2 separate regions of the Homo sapiens genome follow, and region 1 is linked to region 2. The links are contacts of gene promoters, found by promoter capture Hi-C in blood cells and fetal thymus (Javierre and others, 2016). All regions are on one chromosome and are shown on one strand. Each heading gives the region's core, a stretch centred on a gene start or on the middle of the fragment in contact. The rest is flanking DNA. Distances are from core to core; before and after follow the strand shown. Region 1 overlaps NEK1 (NIMA related kinase 1). Region 2 holds the start of PALLD (palladin, cytoskeletal associated protein).

Region 1 (5,392 bases), core at 932-3,431, 1.1 Mb after region 2:
AATGTAGACACTCACATAACCACTACTACAATCAAAAGCATATCCATTACCCCAGAAAGTTCCCTTGTGTTCCTTTGCAGTAAATGCTCGCACTGTCAGCAACCACTGATCTGCTTTCCGTCACTACAGGTTGGATTTGCCTTTCCCATTATGTCATGTAAATAAAATCATAAATATGTACTCTTTTATCTGGTTTCTTTCACTCACAGGTTTTTAAGATTGATCCATGGTGTTGCATGTATAAACAGGCTATTCTTTTTACTGCCAAATGGTATTCCAATATATTTTCAAACAAGAGATACACCTCTTCCATATTATAATCACCATATAACCATACATGTGGAATATATAATTTTTCTAAAAACACATTCATAAAAGACACATTAAAAATGGATAAAACAAAGAAGGTCCAGATTTTGCAGATACTAAATAATCAAAAACATTTACATTGGATATTTATACTATGAATAAAAATGCCTCTTATTTAGAAGTACGTAATAATAGTATTAATTTTGAAATACTTTAGTTTTAGTTTTATCTTTCTTTTGGGGAATCTCCTTAATTTGATTCATATGATACTGAGCCTCCAGGTCCTTATCAACTATGTAGAAATCAAACAGCCTAACAAGTTAAAATATTTCAAATTCAATGAGGAATAAATATAGAAACTAACATAGAATTTCCTTTAAATCATGGAAAATAAATTGTTTTATTAATCTTCAATGAAAGCATTACAGAAGTTTATAAAGTGATGCAGAAATCTATTCAGTACACAGTATGTAACTTGAAAATTGTCTCAGTTATTAAACATTAATAAAACTGATTAATACTGTATTAGACATCATAGGAAAAAGCACTTTATTACACAAAAGGGAGAAGAATAAATCATCAAAACTTCAGTGCTAATCACGGACTTGATAAAAAAATGCTTGAGATCTGAAGGAGTACAAGTTGATAAGCTTTCTCTTTCCAATCAGGTAAGATGTGAGGTTAGTTATTTTAGAATGGACCAGATTCTAAGTCATTCCTGATCATTCAGGAGGTAATAAGTTCTACTTAAAGGTAAGATAAAATTATACTACTAAAAACACTGTATAATCTATATTAATACAAATTTGGAAAAAGTTACTCTTAATGAATTATTACTATGATATGAAGAACTTCTGCACCTCAAGAGACTGAAAAACAAATCTATAAATCCAGGGCAGAATGTATATGTCTAGATAAAACAAACTTTTATTCAAATTATAACTTTTGGAGAAAAAAAACCAAGAATTATAATTGATCCAATTTGACAAGTATCTATTGTACATCTAAATATCAAGATTAATGGGTGTACATGAGTGAAACTTATAGTTTGAAGATGTATTGACTTAGGCTGGGCACGGTGACTCACGCCTGTAATCCCAGCACTTTGGGAGGCCGAGGCAGGCAGGTCACCTGAGGTCGGGAGTTCGAGACCAGCCTGACCAACATGCAGAAACCCCGTCTCTACTAAAAATACAAAATTAGCTGGGCGTGGTGGTGCATGCCTGTAATCCCAGCTACTCCGGAGGCTGAGGCAGGAGAATCGCTTGAACCCGGGAGGCAGAGGTTGCAGTGAGCTGAGATCGTGCCATTGCACTCCAGCCTGGGTAACAAGAGCGAAACTCCATCTCAAAAAAATAAAAAGATGTATTGACTTACAGTTTATTCAATGATACAAATTAGTGCATTCATCTTCTATTGCTGTATAACAAACTATCACAAATTTAGTAGCTTAAAACAATATCTATTTATAATCTCAGTTCCCCTGGCTCAGGAATCTGGGTGCATTTAGCTGGGTCCCCTCCTCAGGATCTCACCAGGCAGAAATCAAGGTGTCAGCCAGGGTTACAATTCTCACCTGAGACTCAGGATCTCTTCCAAGTTTACTGGTTCTTGGCAGAATTAATTTCCTTGTGGCTGTATGACTAGGACCACAATTTTCTTGCTAGTTGCTCATTAGAGACCACTACTTGTAGAGGTCATCTCTACTGTTTTGCCACATGAATGTTTACTATCTTCCAGGTGAGCAGAATTCTCTCTCTCTAATTTCTTTTCCCCTTCCAGTCAGCTATGAAGGAGTCTTATATGTTAACGTAACCCTGGGAGAGACCATCCCATCACCACTTGCCATATAACATAACCTAATCAAGTGAGCTGCTATACTACAGTATTTACAGGTACCACTTATACTCAAGGGAATGGAATAACACAAGGTGTGTATACCGCAGTTGAGAATCTTGGAGACCATCTTAGAATTCTACCAACTACAAATAGAGATATGTATAGGATGCTGTATGAATAAAAGAGGAAGTATAAGATTCAGACTGGCAGAACAAAGAAAGGAAAGGGAAATTACTATAGAAGCCCTTGCCAGACAGGTTCCAGGCACTGTTCTTGGAAAAAAAACTTTTTTTTTTTTTTAAATCAAGAAACCAAAGCTCAGAAAAGTTCAGTAATGTGCCCAAGGTTAAATAGGGTGGATCTACCCAGAAGGAATGTTTAGATTAACTCATCTATGTAACTGGTTATTTAGCTAAATGGATGGAGGTGGGACGTGAGGGTGAGGAGGGATGGAGAGTGCTATTAAGTAAAAGGAAACACAAGTGCAAAGACAAAGAGATTTGGCAAACCACATATAGTAATGAAACTACAAATATAGTCTTCATTTCAGCATGAATAGAGCATACAGTATGTGGTAGGGAATGGATGGTGATGAAGTTGGAGAGACAACAGGGATCAGATTAAGAAGCATCTTCTGAGAACTTAATCTTCAAGGCTACATGAAATTACAGAACGATTTTAGGCTGCAGTGTCATGAATTGTACATAATTTTTAAAAATTCCTGACAGGAATAATGTTATCATAGTCTTCACAAAAAACTTTTAAAGCAATTTTGAGTATAGTCACATAACAGCAACACAAGTTACATATCAGATACATGCAGGAAAGCTAAGTATTCATAATAAATGTTAAAGAATTCTAGGTAAAAATTAATTGTACACTAAAGAAAGAAAGAAAATCCCAAGTACATGCATTTTATAGAACAAGGTGGAACTGGAGGGGAAAATGGTAGTATAACCATATTGGTATAAAATGCCTACCTTTACTTCACCACTTCCACCAGCACTTAGCACATTTCTCCATCCTTGTTCCCTGGCCCTATTTATTCTTTCCAACTTTGGGGAAAAGAAATAAACAAAACACCATTTCAAGTATTTAATATAAAATACACGTAATACATTTAGCAATAAACTGAAAATCAGTGTATTCCTTAAGAAAAAAGTATATTTAATAGATTATCCTCTTACCCTTTCCTTTTCTTGCCTTTTCATTTGTTCAGCCTTCATTAAACTAATAATCTGTAACAATTTTAAAGACAAGCTTCTTACAACTCTTGAACCTATTATCACTTAACAACTTGCCAAAGGTAGAAAAACAAGAGCAAAAAACTACCTGATCCTTTTGTTTCTTTTCTTTTTCAATAAATTCCAGCCTTCTCTTTCTTGCTGCTTCCTTAAATAAAAAAAAGAACATTTTAATCCATAATAATTCCTGTTTTTTCTAGTTTCATCAGGAAAGTTAGTACACCAATGGCAGAGGTATGTTCAATGAGGTTTTTTTTTTAAAAAAAAAAAGAAGTTATAGGTATTCGTTTGAAAGAAATAAGGAAAGGTTTGGAGGCTTTATAGTAAGATTTTGTTTCTTTTTTAAAATTATGTTTGCAAAGCTTTAAAATAACCAGACAGATGTCTTTATACCTCAGATATTTTCCTCCTTTCTTCTCCAGTATTCACTCTCTTCTCTGGAGTTTGATGGGCCTGGACAAAAAGTAAAACTACAAATTAAATAAAGATTTTGAGGCACTTATTTGAAAATCCCAAATTTACAGAAATTTAAGATAAGAAAAAGGTAAAGTCAATACTTCCATAACTCTCTTCCAAATTACATTATCTTAAAAAAAAAAATCGTAGTCTTTGATATGCTGTTAAACAAAGAGAAACATTAGATTCAAAGAAACTGTGGAAAAGGGTCCTTCCCCAATCATCAACTAAACAGTTTTGTGTTCAGGTATGGATGTTTAAGTTTTCCAATATTATCATAGACTATCATTTGAAAAGCCCAATGATGGAGATAATTTTTTTAAAAAAATTAGTGACACAATATATATTCAGTATATAAAATTCAAACAAGATTAAAAATTTAGGGTCTATTTTGCTCTCCACCTCCAGAGTAACGGTAACCACTGTTAATATTTTCATTAGTGTCCTTCAGAGATTATTTTTGTACTTATATATACAGTTCAACTATATACATACAACAATTTTAGCTATGATTTTTACATACATGTAATATTAATGTGTTAATAAAATGACTTTAATTTTTAAAATTTCAATAGCTTTAGGGGTACAAGTGGTTTTTGGTTACATGGATGAAATGCATAATGGTATATATTAGATATTTACATTTCTTCTTTTATATACTGTTTACCTAACTTTGGGGTTGTTAATGGACTCATACAATATATATTCTTTTGTATCTTGCTTTTGCTCAACACTGTTTTCAAGGTTCATTCATGTTATTATTTATATCTGCATCTGTTTTCTTCATGGATATATAGCATTCTATTAATTTTGATTCCTTTCTTTCACAATTATCTTATACTTTACTCATTAGGTCTATTCTAAAGTATTTGGGGGCGGGACTGATGTGGTAGCTCACACCTGTAATCCTAGCACTTTGGGAGGCCAAGATAGGAGGACTGCTTGAGCCTAGGAGTTTGAGACCAGCCTGGATAACATAGTGAGTCCCCATCTCTACAAAAAATTTTTAAAAATTAGCCAGGCATGTGGCCCACACCTGTTGTCCCAGCTACTCAGGAGGCTGAGGTGGAAGGATCTCTTGAGCCCAGGAGGTAGAGGCTACCATGAGCCATGATCACATCACTATACTCCAGCCTGACAGAGCGAGATCCTGTCTCAAAAAAAAAAATAAAAATAAAAAAATCAAGTATCTGGGGGGTTTGTGGGTAATTCTTTCCATTTATTTTCTAATCATTTATTTTTTACATGTTGCCCTTCCATCAGGCCACTTTATTTAATTTATTAATAGTTTAATGCTGCTTCACCACGATTTTCTAGGTAGGTAATCATATCAAATGTAAATACGATATGTCTATGTTTTCTCTCCTCTTCCAATATTTACATTTCTTTCCTTTTAATTGCTCTAGCTAGAACCTCTGGCATAATTTAACGATGGCAATGACAGCAAATCCCTCTGTCTTGTTCCTGACTTTAATGATAATGCTTCCAATGTTTCATCATTATGTACAAAGCCTGCCATAGGTTTCAGGTGTGTATACATACTG
Region 2 (5,587 bases), core at 1,251-3,750:
ACCTTGCTATACTAACTTAAGAGTGTTGATCAAACTTTCTAAATTTTTTTGATGCCAATTTTCTAAGGAAAAGAACTTCTTATAAGATTTTTAAAACAAGCTTGGTTTGCTGCACTATTTGCAATACACACACAAAAAGGTCACATTTCTGTGTCCTTTTGAGTAAAGTCATATCCATCTTTGAAGCCTCTCTCAGGACCACAAGCTGTTTTTTTTTCTTTTTTCTTCTTATGGCTTCATCACTTCACTGGTGTTATACCAGGATTTAGGAACCAAGCAATCCAAAGAAATGTGGGAGAGGCCTCGTCTGGCCAGTAGTCCAACATGATTGCCTCTGGAATTCACCATGAGACTCACAGTTCACCAGAAGGCAGAGGCAAAAATCAGAGTTGCCAATTAAAATTATTTCTAAAGATGGGTTCACTGCTTCCTATTCCCAAGCCTTTCTGAGACTCCATGGGGTGAATCACTTGCTTCTTTTCTGTATCTCCTCCTGCAGGCATTTAAGCTTTGTAATTTAGTTACATGCATACTTATATTTATCTCTTTCCAACAATTTTGTTCATTTCTGATATCTTCTATTGTCTTCCCTCCCAATTTCTGCCCTTTTCAGTTTTTACTATTATCTTGTGGTTTTAGGAAAAAGCAGATATAAATATGTGTTTAAGCAATGCTATGGTTTGAAGGTTTTTGTCCCCTTCAAAATTTTTGTTGATTCCTAATCCCCTATGCAACAGTATCAGGAGGTGTAACGTTTAGAAGGTGATTCAGGAGGACTCCTCATGAATGGGATTTGATGCCCTTAGGGCTTGATGGAGGAAGTTTGACCCCCTCTTGCCCTTCCACCTTCTGCCATGTGAGGACACAGTGCTCAAGGCATCACTGTGGAAGCAGAGACAGGAACTTCACCAGACAACAAACCTGCTGGCACCTTGATCTTAGACTTCCCAGCCTCCAGAACTATGAGAAATCAATTTCTGTTCTTTGTAAATTACCCAGTCTGTGGCATTTTGTTATAATGACACAAACTAAGACAATCAATCAGAGTTATATTTCCTTGTAAGTATAAATTTTATTTTTTTATTTTTATTTTTATTTTTTTTAAGAAGGAGTCTCGCTCTGTCACCCAGGCTGGAGTGCAGTGATGGGATCTCGGCTCACTGCAAGCTCCGCCTCCCGGGTTCACACCATTCTCCTGCCTCAGCCTCCCAAGTGGCTGGGACTACAGGCACCCGCCACCACGCCCAGCTAATTTTTTGTATTTTTAGTAGAGAGGGGGTTTCACTGTGTTAGCCAGGATGGTCTCAATCTCCTGACCTCATGATCCACCCACCTCGGCCTCCCAAAGTACTGCAATTACAGGCATAAGCCACCACGCCCAGCCGTAAGTATAAATTTTAAAATCACTTCTTAATTAATATAATAGATGAAATGACCCACAGAAGTATCCACTCACAGAAAGGACCATTTCTAAAGGACCAGTTTGGCCTATAAAGAAAATACAATAGCAGACCTTCACAAATTTTCTAACATCAGAAAAGAAAAAATATTTAGATATTAAACTGAATCAAATGTGATGGTCTTACCCAGACAAAGGAAGACTCAGCACCCCATTTCCAAGTTAACTGGGAGCTTTTGTGTTGCTCTTTTTGCCCCCCTTATATTTGATTCTGCTACCTGACCTTTAAACAGAAAAGCTTTCTCTTCTTGCTATCTATGTTTGTTATTTAAAAGATCAAAATATTAAACTCTTGCTATATCTATTTGTCATTTGAAAGATCAAAATATTAAATGATTGTGAAACATTTTTTGCAACTGTAAGAGGGTTGATACTTTTCCTGAATATTATTCATTCAACATTCATTTATTTCTTTGACAAATATTTAAGAGATGCTCATGATGTCCTAGGCATTGAGCTAAGAACTCAATGTTGCAATGTGGATAAGATCCAGTCCCTGTGTGTTCATACTTATTTAATACTATTATAGACAAGGCCTTTAATACATACCATAGTCATATATCAATTTTTAATTAGCAATATGAAATAAGAGAACAATGGGACTTTCCACTCAATTTGACAGGTGGCTAAATTTTCAGTTACTGAATTTACTATTTTAGGGTAATCTAGCACATGACCAAAATTTAAATGCACAGAACAGAAGATCAGAGTAAGAAGAGCTTCCATTTGGATTATCACTTTTTCTACTTGGAGTCACATACTGTACTTTAAATTGATTAAGAACATGTTAAAGGTCCAGGTGGTGATTTCCAGCTACAAGTCCAAAGTATAGAAGAATGTGTTTAAATCCTACGTTTATCAGATCCATAAATATAGTTCCTTCTATGTTAAGTGGCTTTATTTCTAAGAACCCAGCCCTCGGTCCTGGGGGTGCTTCCCAGCCCGCTGCTGGAATTCCTGATCGTGGCAGTCTGCTGAAACATGAGCTCAGTTACCAAATATAGCTGAGTGGAGTAAGAGGACAGATGAGAGTCTGAGGCCACAGTTGCCTCAAAGTGACCACGGACCAGGCAGTCTCTAATGAATAGGCAAGGCCACAACCTCCATTCTCCCAGAAAAGAAGAAATGCTCATCTGAAATTCATCACCTCTCTGGAGTCTTCAAACTGACCAAGCATTGAAAAGGTCTGTAAGGTGTATCTTAATATACTAACTAGTAGGGCAACATTTTAAGGACTTAAAAAAAAAAAAACTAAAAATACAAAAGTTTTTCTGAAGATATGATACTATTTACAAGATACCTTAATTATTCTTTTGCTTGGAGAGGAAACGTAATGAGAATGTTACGGTTTTGCCAAAAACAGATAATACGTAAGATTTGCCTGCCCACTTCATCTCTGCCTTTGCTGTCAGAGAATTACACTTTCTGTTATAAGCTTAAGCATGCTAAGATGGTGCTATCAATTCCAAAAGGATTAAATGTATTTATGGAGCCAGCTTTTGTCAAGATCGTGTATGTGTTATGTTTCACAGAAAAGGAAAACGCAGCTTTCTAGACCCTCACCCATATTTAAGCTAGATAAGTGATGATGGCTTAAAGTGATAGACCTTAGATTTCAGTAACATTATAAATTGTTAATTACACTTTCAAAAGATTCTAAAAGTAACTCACTGGACATAATTAAATGAGTTGGGATAGTAACAGCAGGTATTTTAAATTATATTCATGCATAAAATTTACATACATATTTTTAATAAGATAACGCTTACTAAGGGAAACCACAGTGCAATCTCGAGTCCAGTCAAGTTTAAACATCACAGAATAATTTTTATCATGTTGTTTTAAGTTGCACATGAAATTGTCTTGAATCCAATATAGGAGGTTGACATAAAATGATTTCAGGCTCATATTACTTATTAACATTTGCTAAAAATACTAATTGCCTTCTAGTATGAATAATGTGGTGACATATAAAGCCATTTCTTGGCAATATAAAACTATTACAAATCTATTCAATCACATATATGCAGAAATTAAATCCTCATTTCATGATAAATGTGCCTTCCAATGTTTTTTCTCACAGAAAGAACTTGAATACTCACCTCAATTATTCAGATTTTTTTTTCAGATTTTTAAAATCAAAGTCTCTTTGACAAGTTATTGCTAACAGCAGAAAAGGCCGATGAGGTTTATCTGGCCACTAACTGCCCTGTAAATACATGATTACACATTCCTAGAATATAAATTAGTCCTCTGGCATCCTAGAATCTGGTATGGATTAGGGTCTGTATCCCAGGGGTTCTGTGTCAGCTCTTCCTCTGGGTTTCTCTGTTATTGCTAGAGCTGAATATTAAAACTGGCCTTATAGCATATTTCACAATAGAATGAGGATCTGGATTGCACTGGACAAGTACAATCACTTTGACCTCCTTACCTCATTTTTTAAAAATGTAGAGGGCAATCATTATTCAGGTTTAAAAATAAATATGACAAGTTCTTTAAGAGATACCAAGTGGAATCTGCAAGGCCCAGACAAGAGCTCCACTTCTTAAACAATATGTGTGTGGAGGCTGTCAAAGGGTATTGCAATTACTGAGCTCCAGTTAGAAATTCAGGCCATCTAGAGTTAATGACTGTGTCCCGGTGAAATTACAGCAAAGAAAACAAAGATTGAACAAAGTATCTTCGACTAAAATTTCTAACTGTTAAATCATATTAGAGAATATAGAAGCAAATTTGGTAAATAGGTTTTGAATTTAAGTGAGAAGAATAAAGCCCTGAATTGGATAATGGTAATGGAAATGGATAATTCAGAAGTAAAATCTAAATATTTGCAATGGACTCAGTATGGTGAATAAAGTTGATAAGATGAACAGGACATGGGATAACTTCAAAAACTCTGTAAAGTATCTTATTTGGCTGTTTCTGCATTAAATGAGCTATTAGATTATGTCCTTGAAATTGAGATTAAATAAGCTGTTTAAAGAGATATTTAAAACTGTAGGATAAATATATCTGCCTGCATTGACAATTTAATAATTAGAAAGGAAAATAATCCATGTGTATTTATTAAGAAATAAATTATAAAATTGTAGTGCATTTTCTGCATCAAACATAAAATTTCATAAAATTTTCGTGTTTGACTTTTGCCCTAAAGGACCCTTTGTAGCAAAAAAAAAAAAAAAAAAAAAAAAAAGGAAGGAAGAAAGAAAGGGAGACGGGGAAGAAGGAAGGGAGAAGGGAGGGAGGAAGGGAGGGAGGATGGGAGGGAGGATGGGAGGGAGGATGGGAGGGAGGAAGGGAGGGAGACATGGAAGAAGGGGGAAGGGAGGCAGAAGGGAGGGAGGGGGGAGGGAGGAAGGGAGGGACTTTATTGATTTAGTCTAGGGGGGTTGCCTGTGATTCTGAAGCATGAAAATTAAGTGTTAAAGCTTTTCTAACTTTGGTTTTCATAGTTTAGGTTTTATTAAAAGATATTTCAATATCTAATATTTGTATCAATGGTTTGCATTACTTTTTTAGTAATTGCTTAAATATGAAAATAAAACTGCTAAACCTAAAATTAAAAATCACTTATAACTTTTTTTCAAAAATTACAAAATAAGCAACAAAAGATCCCCCTGCATGTCCCACCTTTCAACTCCTACCCCTGCCTAAATCCCCCCACAGAGGTCAGTGTTGATTGTTTGGTGTATGTTATTCCAACCATTTTCATATATTTATTCCTATCTATGTATACATTTTTAAATGACTATGGGAATTTAGCTATTCCACCTGGACTCTCTAAAGAATCTGCTGAATGTGGTACATGGTATTAAGTGATCCTTACTGCCTGTCAATGTTTTTCTAACATCAAACTTTTTCTTTCAAAATTGTAGCAGTTCTTCATCGACTCAAAGTATTTCACAAACAGACTTCAAAAGTTTTCCCCTTATCTAAATTTTTAAAGTAATTTCCTATAATATCTCCAATGAGAGAAGAAAACTTTGCAGTTAAATGCAGGCTTCCACCCTGAGTCTGCCACTTTCTGATGGCTCAGGTTGGGCCAAATAATTGAAACTTTTTCTGCTGCAGTTGTGGGTAATACAAACAATAAAATAGAAAAATAACATCTACTACATGGATTGT

Evidence for each region. The method cuts DNA at HindIII sites, captures the fragments that hold promoters and counts their contacts. A CHiCAGO score of 5 or more calls a contact.
Region 1: a fragment that was not itself captured here is called in contact with the fragment with the promoter of PALLD in region 2 in 2 of 17 cell types (naive B cells and total B cells); the score reaches 8.8 in naive B cells.

What each region holds. Positions count from the first base shown.
Region 1 is chr4:169,558,352-169,563,743 of GRCh38, forward strand. NEK1 (NIMA related kinase 1) reads right to left here. Exons shown (of 36, transcript NM_001199397.3): 13 at 3,786-3,845; 14 at 3,481-3,540; 15 at 3,336-3,386; 16 at 3,129-3,203. Among named protein-coding and RNA genes, the nearest start is that of NEK1, 52 kb to the right of the region's middle. The HindIII fragment of the contact is 2,449 bases long and covers 958-3,406 here.
Region 2 is chr4:168,494,552-168,500,138 of GRCh38, forward strand. It overlaps PALLD (palladin, cytoskeletal associated protein), which reads left to right and starts at 2,501. Exons shown (of 22, transcript NM_001166108.2): 1 at 2,501-2,643. The region is part of intron 1 of LOC107986198 (a long non-coding RNA gene); the gene reads right to left. The HindIII fragment of the contact is 1,197 bases long and covers 1,696-2,892 here.